Linked DNA regions of Homo sapiens: all the other regions are linked to region 3. Evidence: promoter capture Hi-C in 16 types of primary human blood cells and fetal thymus (Javierre and others, 2016). All regions are on one chromosome and are shown on one strand. Each heading gives the region's core, a stretch centred on a gene start or on the middle of the fragment in contact. The rest is flanking DNA. Distances are from core to core; before and after follow the strand shown.

Region 1 (2,700 bases), core at 92-2,591, 290 kb after region 3:
CAGGCTAGAATGCAGTGACGCGATTTCATCTCACTGCAACCTCCGCCTCCTGGGTTCAAGCGATTCTCCTGCCTCAGCCTCCTGAGTAGCTGAGATTATAGGTTCCAGCCACCAAGCCCAGCTAATTGTTGTATTTTTAGTAGAGACGGGGTTTCACCATGTTGTCCAGGCTGGCACTCTGTGAGTTCTTAGGAGTGAGTTCTTCCTAGAGATGGTGAGGATGGGGTTCCTTGGAATTCTTTGAAATCTGGAATTATAAGAGAATGATGTGCTTGGGTACCATTGTGGATGGTGGAAAGAATGCAAAAGTGGCCTGTGAATATTTGAACGTTTGTTGAGTTTCTATATTTGTTGGGGCAGGGAACGGTAATCAGTGACAAGGTATAAACTAGGTCATTTGAGTTCTGTTTGTGACTGCCACAATGTTGGGTAAGGCAGTTACTTTTTGTGCTGTTTTTAGAACAGGAAGAAGAAGGCTTTGAGCAGAGGCTCTGGTCCAGGAGTTTCTACTTGGGCACCTCCACCCTGGGGGCCCTAGAAGCAGAACACTCAGCTGGCCTCTGTTGTCTGAATAAATGTGCATCAGATGTATGTGCTGTTATATTTCAAATGTACACAGATAATATCATGACTTCAAAATACAGAGCACGCTGGGCGTGGTGGCTCACACCTGTAATCCCAGCACTTTGGGAGGCTGAGGTGGGAAGACCACCTGAGCCCAGAAGATGGAGGCTGGGCTCATGTGAGCCCAGTGAGTTGTGATTGTGCCACTGTACTCCAGCCTGAGCAACAGAGTGAGACCCTATCTAAAAAATATAGAATGGTAAAAAAGGTTACTAAGAATTCAGCAATACTTTTAAATATCTTTGTATTTTATTAATCTACAGATAGTAAAATCAAAGCTAGTCATGTGGAGGTTGATATTTTCAGTAATAAAAGTGGTGAGGTTTCCCTTGCACTGAGTACTGAGTTAACGAAGGTTCTTTTAGTTCAAAGTCTTGGTTTTGGCCAAAGAACTATGCAAGTTTTTTTTGCATATAGAAATAGATTCTTTTAAAAAATGTAATATACTGCTACTTTGAGCCTGGTGGTTCTATATTTGCCCTCTCTGGGGACATCTAGTGGGTATATTAAGAAGTGCAAGCTGGGAGTGGTGACTAATTCCTATAGTCCCAGCACTTTGGGAGGCCAGAGAGGGAGGATTGCTTGAGCCCCAGAGTTCCAGATCAGCCTGGGCAAGATAGCAAGACTCTGTATCTAGAAAAAATTTAAAAATTAGCCAAGTTTAGTGATGTGTACCTGTAGTCCCAGCTTCTTGAGAGGCTGAGGTGGGAGGATTGCTTGAGCCTGGGAGGTGGAGGCTGCAGTGAACCATGATCACACCACTGCGCTCCAGCCTGGGCGAAAGAGTGAGACCCCATCTTTAAAAAAAAAAAAAAGAAAAAGAAAAAGAAAAAAGAAGTGCAGCCCTTCTATCTAGCCGCCATCTGTTGCTAAGGAGGATGGCTGCTCACTGAGGCTCACTCCAGAATGTTAGGGAGGGATTCTCCTCCCTTGGCTCAGCCCAGCTGGTGAGTGATGTCCTAGTCACCCACACTCATGATGGATGGGTGCTGGGATCTTAGATCCATGATGTCTTCTGATTCTGAATGCAGGCTGAGGTGGTTTCACTAAGATGGAGCTGGGTGTGACGACACACATCTGTAGTCCCAGCTACTTGGAAGACAGGCGGGAGGATCACTTGAACCCAGGCATTCATGTCCCGCCTGGGTAATATAGCCAGATCTTGTCAAGAGATGAGGTTCCCCCCAACCCTTTTTTAAGAAAAGAAAAATGGAGGATGGAGAAAATGTTGCATGATTGGAACCCTGGAGTTGGAATTTTAAAGCAAAAGTGGAAATAAAGAACATCCATGCTGTCCTTGGTTTAAGGCTGTGCTGGTGCATAGGCGGCCTGCAGGAAGCTCCTCTCTGCCCCTGCGTTGGGCTGGGCCCTGTGCTGTGCTCCCGCTGCTGTGCAGCTCTCTCCTCTGATCTGGGTCTGAGTGGCTCCGGGGCAGGTGCTGTGGATGGGATGGTCCCCTCTGACAGCCAGGGCCTGGCAGAGCAGGCACTCAGTGGCATCAGTTTGAGTTTTTTAATTTTTTCATTGTATGGATAAATAGGATTATTTATAGCTCCTGGGAATCTAAATTAATGTTAGATTTATTAAAATTATAACAATTTGAGAAACTTGGATTTTCTTTTTTTTTTTTTTTTGAGACAGAGTCTCGCTCTGTTGCCCAGGCTAAAGTGCAGTGGTGCGATCCCGGCTCACTGCAACCTCCGCCTCTCAGGCTCAAGCAATTCTCCTGCCTCAGCGCCTCCGAGTAGCTGGGATTACAGGCGCATGCCACCATGCCTGGCTAATTTTTTTTGTATTTTTATTAGAGACAGGGTTTCACCATGTTGGCCAGGATGGTCTCAATCTCCTGACCTTGTGATCTGCCTGCCTTGGCCTCCCAAACTGCTGGGATTACAGGCGTGAGCCACCACACCTGGCCGAAACTTAGATTTTTTCTTAAGCCTTAAAGTTCAACTTACAAATATTATTGCCTTATTTAGAAGGCTAACAATTTTTCTATAAAAGAACATTTACTTTCATTATTTGATAAATGGCTTATTAACTCAAGTTTAGCTGATTAAAATCCCCTAAACAATG
Region 2 (2,700 bases), core at 76-2,575, 270 kb after region 3:
AGCCCAGGTGCGGTGGCTCACGCCTGTAATCCCAGCACTTTGGGAGGCTGTGGCGGGCAGATTACCTTAGGTCAGGTGTTTGAGACCAGCCTGGCCAACATGGCAAAACTCTGTCTCTTCTGAAAATACAAAAATTAGCCGGGTGTTGTGGCGCATGCCTGTAATCTCAGCTACTTGGGAGGCTGAGGCAGGAGAATCGCTTGAACCCGGGAGGCAGAGGTTACAGTGAGCCGAGATTGCACCACTGCACTACAGCCTGGGCAACACAGCGAGACTCTGTCTCCAAAAAAAATAAATAAATAAATAAAAAATAAGTAAATAAATTGCTAAGTGAAAGTGGTATGAAATTATTTAATCTCCATTTATTTTTATTATTTAATGTGATTTGTTAATGGTAAATGTGAAAATTGATTTGGAAAATTAGTAAGCTTAATTAAAAATGTAAAACATGTAAAAGATAAAACCAATCAACCAACCCTTGGTGTCTGACATGCTTCACTCTTTTCCTGGCAGCCTACCGATGTTCACCGTGCTCAGGAAATTCACCATTCCACTTACCTTACTTCTGGAAACCATCATACTTGGGTGATTTTGTTTTTCCTCCATTCTTCCAGTGTGCCTCCCACCCACTGCATTTCTTTTACCCAGCAAATTCTAGTAGCCATTGCTAGTTGCAATAATTTAAGGACAAATGGTTTATTCATTTAAAAGTAGTTTTGTGCTTCTGTGATTCCCTAAGAACTTAATGAGGGATTTTTTAAAAGTTGTAATTTTACCATAGACAAATAATGCATGTTTGTGGTAGAAAATCGTAAGAAAGTAAAAGAAACACTCCAAAAAGGATGTAAACCTGTTTCCTGAGCCAGATGGAATATAAACCAATTTTGGAATACAGAAGGGAAACTGTCCATGTATACATACAGGATAGTTGTGCAGGGTATGAGGGATATCAATTCTGACGCAGTAATTATAATATCAGAAGAAATTAATTTTTATATTGTTGGTATAAAATTTTTCATAAGGATATTTAGTCTGATATCCAAAAAGTTGATTCTTGATTTTGCTGGGAGGATTATTTAGAAATGAATTTTGGTTGGTGGTTCAGTGTTTTAAGCCCTTGTATTGAATTTTATCATAATCTTTGAATACTCACTATCAGTCCATGCAAACTAGATCCACCAGCAGGAGCGCTTCTGTATTTTGTCCCAGTATCTCTCTAGTGAGAACAGAGAAATCAGTTTGTAATTAGATTAAGAAAACTGCTTAAGAAATAATGTAAATTTAGTCTGACTTAGAAACACTTTTAGTGCTTTCTCTGCATCAAGCATTGTCTGCTGGATTTTAGCTATAAAAATGCTGATGTCTATTTTCAATTTGTTTAAAAAATATAATCATATTTCAATGTTTTCCTCTCTGCTCCCTTTCCTTTCTTATTTGTGTATTTATTACAGGAAGCAGTATTCACTCAACATCATCCTCAGTGTCTTTGCCATTATTCTCGGGGCTTTCATAGCAGCTGGGTAAGACTTTGGACTGTTTCTGCTCAATAACTTCTTTGTGTCTTTGACAATAGGCCCAGCCCCATCCTCAGTTTTTCATTTTCCATCTGGCTGCTGTTGAATTGAGCAGGCAAGAGACAAATCTGTTGAAGTTAGTGGAATCCCCATGTGTTCCTATGAAAGTCAAAGTGGGTCCCACATTGGCCAGAAAATTTCTGAGAATATATGAAGAGAGCATTGCAAGATATTAATATAGCTTTTCTTCACAAAAAGCAGTGAACTGTTTACATTTCTTACTGAATGTTTGTCTTCATTATAACAACTTTACTTGAGAAGTTCTTAGGCATTTGATTAATAATAACAGACTTACAAAGCCTTTGTCTGCTGATTTATTTTATTATTCCATGATACCTTAGCAGTTGCTGTTTCCGATGGTAGAATGCTAAATATATTTGTACGTTTGGGATATGAGCCAACACTGGTGCATGACTACTACTTTAATAATTATTTTGCAAAAGGAATAACGAGGACTCCAAGTCTTCGTGGGCAGGCAGGTGCTCAGATTTCTGCTATAGCATGGTGGATAGTGCATGTGAATAGTTACATCCCTGGGTTCAAAACTTAGCTCCAGGCTGGGTGTGGTGGCTCACCCCTATAATCCCAGCACTGTAGGAAGCCTAGGTGGGAATATCACCTGAGCCCATGAGTTTGAGATAAGCTTGGGAAACATTGTGAGAACCTATTTCTACAAAAAAAAAAAAAAAAAAAAAAAAAAAGGAAAGAAAATTAGCCTGGCGTCGTGGTGTGTGCCTGGAGTCTCAGCTACTCAGGAGGCTGGGGAAAGAGGATCTCTTGGGCCCAGGAGTTTGAGGTTGCAGTGAGCAATGATTGCACCACTGCATTCTAGCCTGAGCAAAAGAGTAAGATCCTGTCTCTAAGAAAAACAAATCATGCTTACTGTCATTATAAATGTATTTAGTCCATTGTGTAGACTAAGGTTTATTACTTACGTGTCATCTGTACCTTTCTCTCCCCTAGTCCTAGCCAGGGGCTGAGTTTTACTGCTTGAAAGCTGGCTCTGGGGTCTCAGTGCTCCAATTCACACCGCAGGTATAGGGCCAGCACCCATTAGACAGCAGTTCTCAGAGCCTCATCTAGTCATGACAGGCTTTTTTTGGAATGAAATTTTATAAGTAAAGTA
Region 3 (2,700 bases), core at 135-2,634:
GGTCTCCTCCTCCTCCTCCAGGTCAAAACAAAGGACTGTGACCCTACCGTTTCTGCTCTCTAAAACTTACTTGCGCAGCGCCGCACAGCCTCCCACGTCTCTAGCTTCTTTGCTGCCCCTACAGACAGACATGTAGATCATTTTAAATTTAAGGCCTTCACTGATTTCCTTAGGGGAAACAGAGGAAGAGTGAACAGGAGAACCAACCTTAAGAAAAAGTGCTTACAGAGTTGCTGATCTCTAGCTTCAGACACAGCCCCCCTACTTCCTTATTTAGCCGTGCTTAAGGTAAAAGCCCACAACAATAGAAGTCAAAGAGCCCCTTCCTGAGGTGCTCTATGAAAATTTGCATTTCTGAGAGGCTTCCAAGGGGACTGACTCAAATTCATCTTTCTTTTCCCCAGGCTGGCAGTTAACTGCGGAACTGCAGGATAAAACGTTCAAGTGCTGGTGAAAAATAGGGACAGCTTGCAGATGTTGTAAAATTTGGGGCCGTGAAATCTTAACACTGCCCTCCAATCTTCTCACCCTTTTAGATGCTACCATGGACGTTTGTTTAAAGGCCCTCCAAAATGACAGTTTTTGGTTAAGTTCCAGGAAGATAGGGCATTATTTTAATCCAGTAGAAAAAGAAGAGGATATGACCCTACAGTGTGCCAGATAAAGAAGTTTAAGGACAAAACTTGCCCCTTGCTTCAATACTTCATGATATAATCGGACCTGTCGACACCTCAGTATACACAGCAATGAGTGTATAAACTTACTGAATTAATGTGGGCGCTGGATTCCGAGATGAGAAACTCTGAGGTGCAAACAACCACGGTATATTGTGGTTCCACGGAAGTTTCATCGGGTCCTTAAGAAGCCCTTGCTTGGCCTGTTTGAATGCTGGGCATAGGTCGATAAATAGAGCGTAGTTGTTTAAATAGTTTTACTTAAGTTCTGAAATCAACTCTACTTTAAATCTATATAGCTGCAGGTAATGTAATCAGGCCATCCTCTTCCAAGCTGGCAGCCATGGCAAAAGTCCCTTTCTCTTGGCGCGAATTACAAGGAAATTCAAGAAATACTTTAAGATATATATATGCCAAAGACCTGGAGTTAAGTTACTAGGGTGGGGCTGTGTAAATGTTTGGTGACTCACTAAAGAAAGTTGGGATCTGGGGTGCTGGCACCTGGAGGACACAGAAGAAACAAAAGTTGGGGGGCTGGCGAAGGTCGCTAGCACACTTTATCTCTGATTGGCGGAAGCCCTCAGAGTTTTCTTTATGGCGTCACCGAGTACCTGCCTGTAGAAAGGCCCCGTCTCCGTGACGTCACGCCGCATTGGCCAATGAAAGGCCTCAGTCTGCGGGCCCCGAGGAGGGTTGTGGGCCCTTTTTTGTGAATGAAGCGCCACGGAACAGCCCTCCTGGGGTCCCCACGAGCCGCGTCCTGCTGTGCCCCGGCGCCTACGCAGCAGCGGCCGCGGCCGCGGTGGGCACGCACGGTTACCCCGGGCAGCTCCGGCCGCCAGCTGCAGCCCCGTCGCCTCGGCCGCGCCAGCCGGCTGCGGGCACCTGGGGGCGGGCTGGGGGCGCCGGCCGCGGCAGGAGGCGCTGTAGCGAGGGCTGCGGCGCCGGTCCTGCGGCGGCCGCGGGAGGCAGCGGGGCAGGCGCTGTGGGCCGGGCTCCTCCTCCGGCTCCTGCGCGACCGCCTCCCGCCGGGCTCTGCCGGCGCCCGCCGTCCCCGCAGCGCCGCTCTGCGCCCGCCGCCCCGAGCGCCCGCGCGGGGCTGGCGGGAGCCTCGGCGGGCGCGCGGGCGCGCGGGGCCATGGTCGTGGCCCCCTGACGGGCCGCGGCCGCCTCCATGAAGCGGAAAAGCGAGCGGCGGTCGAGCTGGGCCGCCGCGCCCCCCTGCTCGCGGCGCTGCTCGTCGACCTCGCCGGGTGTGAAGAAGATCCGCAGCTCCACGCAGCAAGACCCGCGCCGCCGGGACCCCCAGGACGACGTGTACCTGGACATCACCGGTGAGCCGGCCAGTGGGCGCGCGGAGGGCCCCGGACGGCCGCACCCGGCGCGGGGCCCTGGCCCACCTCCCACCGGGCTGCCCGGGGCCTCCGGGGCCGGGCCGAAATGCCTTCGCCCCCACCCCCTTAAACGCCCCGGCCGCCACACCCCCTTTAGGAGCCTGGCTCCTGAGGAGCGCCCCCCGCCCCGAGTTTCTAGCTGCGTGGGCTGCGAGCTTTAACTTTAGCTTGTGCACCCTCCTCCACCAGCAAGATGGACCGAGGGTCACCTTTCTAAGTTGCGGGCGTCAGCCCGGCGCCTCGAACCTGCAGCTCCTCCCCGCGGGCTGCTTCTGAGTTCCTGTGGATTCCGCCTTCAGGGATTGCGAGCCCGGTTGGCCCTCGCGCGAGTCACAACCTCTGAATCAGCCCCTGAGGATTCCCCGAGCGCGCTGAACGCGCCTGGCACGGGAGCTGCCCCTTTTTGGCGTTGGCCAAACCCCCGCTGCTCCGTAGCCTTGGGACCCTGGGCGCCGCGTTGCCCGTCCGGCGCGTAAGCCCGAGCCCCTCTCCTGGGCCTCCCGCGCCCTGCCCCCTAGCGCGCCCCCCGAACGCCTCCGCCTCCCGGGGTCCGCTCCCCGCCGGGGCCTCGAGAAGGAAGGTGTCACGTTGGTGGCATTCGAGCCAGCCGGCAAGACGAATGTCCGGGTTGT

The links. Contacts are between HindIII fragments. The CHiCAGO score rates a contact against its expected background, and 5 or more counts as called.
Region 1: a fragment that was not itself captured here is called in contact with the fragment with the promoter of CDC14B in region 3 in 9 of 17 cell types (activated CD4 T cells, naive CD4 T cells, total CD8 T cells and 6 more); the score reaches 7.1 in activated CD4 T cells.
Region 2: a contact is called between a fragment that was not itself captured here and the fragment with the promoter of CDC14B in region 3, in 1 of 17 cell types (naive CD8 T cells). The highest score is 6.9, in naive CD8 T cells.

The regions. Positions count from the first base shown.
Region 1 is chr9:96,326,364-96,329,063 of GRCh38, reverse strand. All of the region lies in intron 9 of SLC35D2 (solute carrier family 35 member D2), which reads left to right. All of the region lies in intron 9 of SLC35D2-HSD17B3 (SLC35D2-HSD17B3 readthrough), which reads left to right. Among named protein-coding and RNA genes, the nearest start is that of HSD17B3, 26 kb to the right of the region's middle. The HindIII fragment of the contact is 3,533 bases long and covers 1-2,700 here.
Region 2 is chr9:96,349,923-96,352,622 of GRCh38, reverse strand. SLC35D2 (solute carrier family 35 member D2) reads left to right here. Exons shown (of 12, transcript NM_007001.3): 5 at 514-585; 6 at 1,452-1,520. It overlaps SLC35D2-HSD17B3 (SLC35D2-HSD17B3 readthrough), which reads left to right. Exons shown (of 26, transcript NR_182427.1): 5 at 514-585; 6 at 1,452-1,520. Among named protein-coding and RNA genes, the nearest start is that of SLC35D2, 32 kb to the left of the region's middle. The HindIII fragment of the contact is 1,789 bases long and covers 431-2,219 here.
Region 3 is chr9:96,618,527-96,621,226 of GRCh38, reverse strand. It overlaps CDC14B (cell division cycle 14B), which reads left to right and starts at 1,384. Exons shown (of 14, transcript NM_033331.4): 1 at 1,384-2,008. The coding sequence starts at 1,849. RefSeq lists an enhancer at 1,733-2,233. The HindIII fragment of the contact is 24,798 bases long and covers 1-2,700 here.